Regions from separate parts of the Homo sapiens genome. Here region 1 is linked to region 2. The links are contacts of gene promoters, found by promoter capture Hi-C in blood cells and fetal thymus (Javierre and others, 2016). All regions are on one chromosome and are shown on one strand. Each heading gives the region's core, a stretch centred on a gene start or on the middle of the fragment in contact. The rest is flanking DNA. Distances are from core to core; before and after follow the strand shown.

Region 1 (3,926 bases), core at 153-2,652, 42 kb after region 2:
GTTGCAGTGAGCCGAGATTGCGCCGCTGCACTACAGCCTGGGCGACAAGAGCAAGACTCCGTCTCAAAAAAAAAAAAACAGGCCAGGTGTGGTGGCTCACGCCTGTAATCCCAACACTTTGGGAGACCAAGGCAGGTGGATCACCTGAGGTCAAGGGTTCGAGGCCAACCTGACCAACATGGCGAAACCCTGTCTCTACTAAAAATACAAAAATTAGCTGGGCATGGTGGCGGGCGCCTGTAACCCCAGCTACTTGAGAGGCTGAGACATGAGAATAGCTTGAACCCAGGAGGCAGAGGTTGCAATGAACCAAGATCATGCCACTGCACTCCAGCCTGGGCAACAGAGTGAGACTCTGTCTCAAAAAAAAAAGAAGCAAACACTGGTAGTGACCGTTCAAGGATGGTATTTGGGAGAATAAATCTTGGCAATGGACTTGAGTATTCAGGACACTTGACTAGGCCATCCCAACTGTGGAAGTAAATGCATCACACAATGGCAGCCTGATGTCTTCAATCTTTCTAGCGGTATAACTCACTCCCTGTATTAGTCCATTTTGCATTGCTATAACGGAATACCTAAGACTGGGTAATTTACAAAGAAAGGAGGTTAATTTGACTCACGGCCCTGCAGGCAGTACAAATATGGCACCAGTGAGGTCTTCCGAAGCTTTTACTCATGGCAGAAGGTGACGGGAGCAGTCGTGTCACATGGCGAGAGAGGAAGCAAGAGAGATTCCAGGCTCTTTTAAATAACCGGCTTTTGTGTGAGCTAATAGAGTGAGAACTCATTCATTACCATGGGGAGGGCACCAAGCCATTCATGAGGGATCTGCCCGCATGACCCAAACACCCACCTCCAGCCTCCAACATTGAAGGTCACATTTCAACATGAGATTTGGAGGGGACACACATCTAAACCAGGTCACTCCCCTAGTCCCAATTTCCATGCTGTGATAAGTTGAAAAATGTTCCCTGAAAAAAGATCTTAACTTCCTAATCCCTACAACCTGTAAACAATGCCTTATATGGCAAAAAAAAAAAAAAAAAAAAAGGTTGGGGGGCGGGGGGTGTCTTTGCAGATGTGATTAAGTTCAGGATCTTGAGATTATATTACTCTAGATTATGTGGCTGGGCCCCAAATACAATCACCTGTATCCTCATGAGAGAGAGAGAGATTTCACACACAAAGAGAGAAGACAATGTGAAGGAAGATAAAGGCAGGGATTGGAGTGATGCTGTCACAAACCAAGAAATGCTGGCAACTACCAGAAGCTGGAAAAGGCAAGGATTAGATTCTCCCCTATAGCCCCTGGGGAGGGAGAGTGCAGCCTTGTCAACACCTTGATTTTTCTTTCCTTTTTTTTTTTTCTGAGATAGAGTTTCACTCTTGTTGCCCAGGCTGGAGTGCAATGGTGCAAACTTGGCTCACTGCAACCTGTACCTCCTGGATTCAAATGATTCTCCTGCCTCAGCCTCCCAAGTAACTGGGATTACAGGCATGCACCACACACCCAGCTAATTTTGTATTTTTAGTAGAGATGGGATTTCACCACGTTGGTCAGGCTGGTCTCGAACTCCTGACCTCAGGTGATCCACCGGCCTCCCAAAGTGCTGGGATTACAGGTGTGAGCCACCGCACCTGGCTTTTTTTTCTTTTTCTGAGACAGGGTCTCGCTCTGCCACCCAGGCTGGAGTGCTGTGGCACAGTCATAGCTCACTGCAGCCTCCACCCCCTGGGCTCAATCGATCCTCCTAACTCACCCTCCCTAGTACTAGTAGCTCCCTAGTTGCTGGGACTACAGGCATGCACCACCATGCCTGGCCGACACCTTTGCTTTGATCCAGTGATACTGACTTTGGACTTCTAGCCTCTAGTACTTTGAGAGAATACATTTCTGCTATTTTAAGCCACCAAGTTGTGGTAATTTGTTATAGCAGTCACAGGAAACTAATATGCATACTCACCAAGTAACCTTCTGAATATAATTTGGTGAACCAAGGAGCAATGTTTGTGGGCAGTGAGAGTGCTGGTTGTGCTGACTCAAGTGTTCTATTCCTCATGGTAGGTTTGGTTTGTATAAAATGATAAACTGACATTCTAATTTATATGTTCTAGTTTATAAATCAGCCTTGTAAGCTTGACTAATATGGGTCTATCCTCAAGAATTGGATCTACTGTCTGTGCTGACAAAACCAGATGTCTGTAGGGATATTGGCAAGATCCAGACCATGGTCAACACATCAGGAAAAGAAATACTATTTTGTTGAGGTATCTTGAGAAGTACATACCTGGTTTCTCCTCATTTTCCATGATCTTACCATCAGTTCTCTATTTCAAAACTTCATCAATAATAACTAACTTTAGGCTGGGCATGATGGCTCATGCCTGTAACTCCAACACTTTGGGAAGCCCAGGCAGGAGGACCACCTGAAGCCAGAAGTTCACAACCAGCCTGGGCAATATAGCAAGACCCTGTCTCTACAAATAAAATTTAAAAATCAGCCCAGGCATTGTGGTGCATGCCTGTAGTCCTAGCTACTTGGGTGGCTGAGGTGAGAGGATTGCTTGAGCACAGTAGGTGGAAGTTGCAGTGAGCTGAGATCACGCCACGGCACTCCAGCCCAGGAGACAGAGGGAGACTCTGTCTCAAAAAGAAAAAAAAAAAAGAACTGAGATTTGAACCCGGTATTCTGAGAGCAAACCCTGGGAACTAGATTTGTTCAAAAAACAAACAGCTATATTATGTTTCATTATACACTAGGTACCAAGAATCATGGATTTAGAAATGGATAAGACTAGTCATTTCTACAGCCATGAGGAGCTCCTAACCTAGTAGGAATAAATAGAAATAATTCGCTGAATTTGCCTTTGTATTTTAGTGTTTGAGGATTGTTACAGCCTGCACTTTATTATCTGAAACACTATTGTTAGATAAGGCATTGTTTTTACAACCCATTTAAAACAAGCTTGTCACTCAAGGAGAGGAACTCCAGGCAGAAGGAATTCATATCAGGTTGGGCACTGTGGCTCACACCTGTAATCCCAGCACTTTGGGAGGCCAAGGCAGGTGGATCGCCTGAGGTAAGGAGTTCAAAACCAGCCTGGCTAACATGGTGAAACCCCATTTCTACTAAAAATGCAAAAAATTATCCGGGCATGGTGGCGCCTGCCTGTAATCCCAGCTACTCGGGAGGCTGAGGCAGGAGAATCTCTTGAACCCAGGAGGCAGAGGTTGCAGTGAGCTAAGTTCACGCCATTGCATTCCAGTTTGGGCAACAAGAGCGAAACTCCATCTCAAAACAACAACGACAACAACAACAAAATTAATCAGGCCTGGTGGTGCGTGCCTGTAATCCCAGCTACTTGGGAGGCTGAGGCAGGAGGAGGAGGAGGTTGCAGTGAGCTGAGATCACGCCACTGCGCTCTACCCTAGGCGACAAGAGCAAGATCCATCTCAAAAAAAAAATTATCCTTTTACAACATAGTTCTTTATTTTTTTTTCTAATCTATCTTCAGATAGAATAGTGGGTTTTGGGGTTTTTTTTGGTGGCTATATGGCATTTTATTGTATATCATATTATATTTCACCAGTGGTCTGTTTGGGGACATTAAAATTGAATTCTTTGTTTTTGTTTTGTTTTGTTCCATTTTGTTTTGTAAAACTACTCTTTAAAAATCCATATGACTAAATCTTTACACATCTCATTTTTTCCTTAGGAAAAATTCTTAGTATAATTACTGTGTCAAAGAAAATGTACCATCTTAGCTCTCTCGTTTTTAATTTTTTCCTTATTTTTTAATTGTGATAAAATATACATAACATAAAATGTACCATTTTAACCATCTTTTTGTCTGTGTGTGAGACTGAGTCTCACTCTGTCACCCAGGCTGGGTATAGTGACATACTTGTAGCTCACTGCAGT
Region 2 (3,900 bases), core at 759-3,258:
CAACCCCAGAGAGCTCCTCTGGGTTTAGGCACTCAACCCCCAAGACAGGTGACAACCAGGTAATCACCAGGTGATTATCTATTCAACACTGAGCTGGTCCAGACTGTCCTAATGCCACCCACACGCCAGAACCACATCACCCCCTCCTCTCCCTCTCTTTTCCAGGCTCTGTTCTCACCCAGCAACAGGTATTTAAGGGTCTTCTGGTTGAAGGGATCCTCTAGGCCACAACGAGGCTGCCTCATGCGGGCCCTTGTGGCATCATCCAGCTGACCTGAGACTGGAAGTTCAGATGCTTCCTGAAAAGCTCTGAAGGAGGGAGAGGGATGGGTCTACCAGGACAGGAAAATCTGAAATGACTGGGAGATGATTGCTCTTTGACTTCCTGCTGCCCAAGTTCATGGCCAAGAATAGCACAGAATCCCTGAAGCTGACAGGGTTACTCCAGCCTCCAGTCCTCATAACTGGGACTTTCTCTTCTGTTCTGCAGAAATGGAGATACTCCAGCTTCATCTCCCCATTTTCAGTGTCTTTTATTTGAGTAAGTTTGCCCTCAGGTGTAGCCTTCCTCCTCTACTGCAATCTTCCTTCCTTCCTTCCTTCCTTCCTTCCTTCCTTCCTTCCTTCCTTTCTTTTTCTTCTCTCTTTCTTTCTTCCTTTCTTTCTTTTTTGGTAGAGATGGGGTCTCATTATGTTGCCCAGGTTGCTGTCAAACTTCTGGGCTCAAGCAATCCCCCTGCCTGGATCTCCCAAAGTGCTGGGATTACAGGCGTGAGCCACCATGCCCAGCCCCTCTACTGCAATTTCTAACCTTCTCCTACTCTGTGGAGGTGTCTGGCTCCCCTGCTCTGGAGAGCTTTCCACTAGTGCTCCCACCTGACAGCCTGTCCTCCTTCAGCCTTCTCCCTTCCTGAATGGATACCCGTCCCAGCCCAGCTTGCCCTGGAGCAATTTCATCCATCTATGGACTGTCATAGGGCCTAGGGGCTTTTCAAGGGACCTGAACATATCTGAGAGCAGAAAGAAAAATAATCCATTACATCAACATATAAAACTATAAAATAGAAATAAATAAGTACCAAATTGAAGGCCCACAAAAGGTAATAGCATGTCAACAACTCAACTCAGTTTTACATATCATTACACTTTATGTGGACTATAACTAAATATTAGTATTTGAGATATGATGTGGGTAGAGACTCCAAAGGAATGCTTATGGCCTAGGAAGATCCAATGCCTGTATTCCTCATCTGTGAATCCCCATCTCACCCCATGCCCCACCACCATAATAATGATCGCCACCCATCTCTAAATCCCTGGCATGGTTTAGGGTCAGGAGGAGGTGGGCCTGGGGAGAGGAAGGGATGAGAAGGAAGAAGACCTTGAGACCTTAGCCCTAAAGGCATACACCTCATAGCTTCTCACCTCAGAGCCTCGGTGATATCTTCTGGCTTGAAGTTATTAGATCCTTCTAGAGGCTTCTGTAGGTACCCATATTGTGACAGGTAGTCCTATGATGGGAGTGGAGGTAAGCAGGTTAAAAGGGGGTTAGTCTCAGAGTAAAGCTTCTAAGTGACCTAACAGATCCATCAGGAGAGGAGGGACCTGATATGGAAGCACTAATGGAGAAGCACCTTAGAGAAGGGGCTCAGGTGGAACAAGGGGAAGCAGCGGGAGATGGGCAGGGTAGACCATGGGGCAGAGAGAGCAAGGGAAAGGCAGGCAGGCTGAAGGTCAGGAGGGAGGCTTCGATGGGGCTGTGGAGCAGTAACCCCTGTCCCTCCGCTGGCCCAGGTCTCTTTCTTGGGGGACTTACCACAGGCGCCACCTCTGCAAGCCCCAGGACCCGGCCTGAGACTGTCATGGGGAGTAGGAAGCCCAGCCACAGCTGCTGGCAGTTCATGGTCCCACCAGACGAGAGCTCCAGAGGCTGTCCGTGCCTCTGACCTGAGATTTCTGGGAGCCTTGGGGGAGCAGTGCTAGGCAGAGGGGCTCTTACCCCCAGTTCTTTTTACTCTCCAGCCTCTAGTCCTCTTTATAACAGCTGAGGGGAATTTGGGGGAGAGGCAGAGGGAGGTGACTCAGCCAAGAGATATGTTGCAATTCACCATTAACCCTTGCCCTACCAGAGAGCGGAAGCCAAAGAGAGTTCCCAATCGCTTCCCTCAGAGTCCTCTGCTGGAGATGGAAAAACTTCATACTGCCCTAGGGTGAGCATCCAGGCAGGACGAGAACCAGAATCTCTGGAGAGACTAGAGATAGGGATCATGGACATCCCCTGGAATTAGACATCAATGTGCCTCAGGGACCCTGGGCCAGCAAATCACTCCGCCCCTACCTTTGAGTCTCCCTAGAATAAGCTGAGAGGTAGGAAACAGCTGAGGTAGCTTGGGTTTCAGGTGAAGGAGTCAAGCGTGAAGTCTCAGTTTCTTTGTACCCAAGACCAAGTTGGGAATATAGATGCTCCTGCAACCTACTTATGTCTGCTTTAATAAAAAGTCATTATTTCAAGAATCTAATGAGCCTGGAATATGTGGGTGTAGGTGGGACTTAACAAGGGCACAAATAAGTAAAGGGCCCAGAGCCTACCCTCAGGGAGCTTACGGATCCAGTGAGGCAGATCCAGACACCTGGGAAGAGGGGAGCCAGCGTGCCAGGCCAGAGGTGATTCACCCTAAGGGGCTTGGGGCTGGGGGGAGGTTTGCTGAGAAGTCAGGCTTTGAGATGGGCTTTGAAGGCCAGCTAAGAATTGATGGGGTAAGGCCAGGCATGGTGGCTCGCTCCTGTAATCCTAGCACTTTGAAAGGCTGAGGTGGGTGAATCACTTGAGATCAAGAGTTCGAAACCAGCCTGACCAACATGGTGAAACCTTGTTTCTACTAAAAATACAAAAATTAGCCAGGTATGGTGGCGGGCGCCTGTAATCCCAGCTACTCGGCAGGCTGAGGCAGGAGAATCACGTGAACCCAGGAGGCAGAGGTTGCAGTGAGCTGAGATCACACCATTGCACTCCAGCCTGGGCAACAGAGCAAAAACTCCATCTCAAAAAAAAAAAGAATTGATAGGGTAAAAGGATACTGAGAGACAGACAGTGCAGGTCTTGAGTAAAAGTGCAGAGCTGAGAGACTGCTGTACTCAGTAAGTCAGAAGGGTCACGACTGCTTCATTCACCACTGAAGCCCGAGTGCCTACCCCAGGCCACCTCCATGCTTTCGAGGCTGTGCTTAATAAATCACTGTCAAAGAATGACCAGGGTGGGAAAGTGGTTGGGAGACAGAATTTGGAGAGGGCCTTAAATGCTATGCAAGGAAAAGAAGAAAAACTTACATTTAAAAATACCGGACGGGAGCAGTGGCTCACGTCTGTAATCCCAGCACTTTCGGAGGCTGAGGTGGGCGGACCATGAGGTCAGGAGTTTGAGACTAGCCTGGCCAACATAGCAAAATCTTGTCTCTACTAAAAATACAAAAATTAGCCAGGCGTGATGGCATGCGCCTGTAATCCCAGCTACTCGGGAGACTGAGGCAGGAGAATTGCTTGAACTGGGGAGGCGGAGATTGCAGTGAGCTGAGATCGCGCCACTGTACTCCAGCCTGGTGACAGAATGAGACTCTGTCTCAAAATTAGTTAATTAGTTAATTAATTAAAATAAAAATACCTATTATTGGGTGATGGGTGAACCAAAATCTCACAAATCACCACTAAACACTAAAGAATTTATGTAACCAAATACCACCTGTTCCCCAAAAACCTATGGAAATAAAAAATTAAAGGAATTAAAGTCCGGGCATGGTGACTCACACTTGTAATCCCAGCACTTTCGGAGGCCGAGGTGGGTGGATCACCTGAGGTCAAGAGTTTGAGACCAGCCTGACCAACATGGTGAAACCCCGTCTCTAC

The links. Contacts are between HindIII fragments. The CHiCAGO score rates a contact against its expected background, and 5 or more counts as called.
Region 1: a fragment that was not itself captured here is called in contact with the fragment with the promoter of MMP19 in region 2 in 1 of 17 cell types (endothelial precursors); the score reaches 5.4 in endothelial precursors.

The regions. Positions count from the first base shown.
Region 1 is chr12:55,883,333-55,887,258 of GRCh38, forward strand. No RefSeq gene overlaps it. Among named protein-coding and RNA genes, the nearest start is that of MMP19, 42 kb to the left of the region's middle. The HindIII fragment of the contact is 1,470 bases long and covers 668-2,137 here.
Region 2 is chr12:55,840,928-55,844,827 of GRCh38, forward strand. MMP19 (matrix metallopeptidase 19) reads right to left here and starts at 2,009. Exons shown (of 9, transcript NM_002429.6): 1 at 1,817-2,009; 2 at 1,426-1,511; 3 at 179-309. The coding sequence starts at 1,903. The HindIII fragment of the contact is 3,493 bases long and covers 1,564-3,900 here.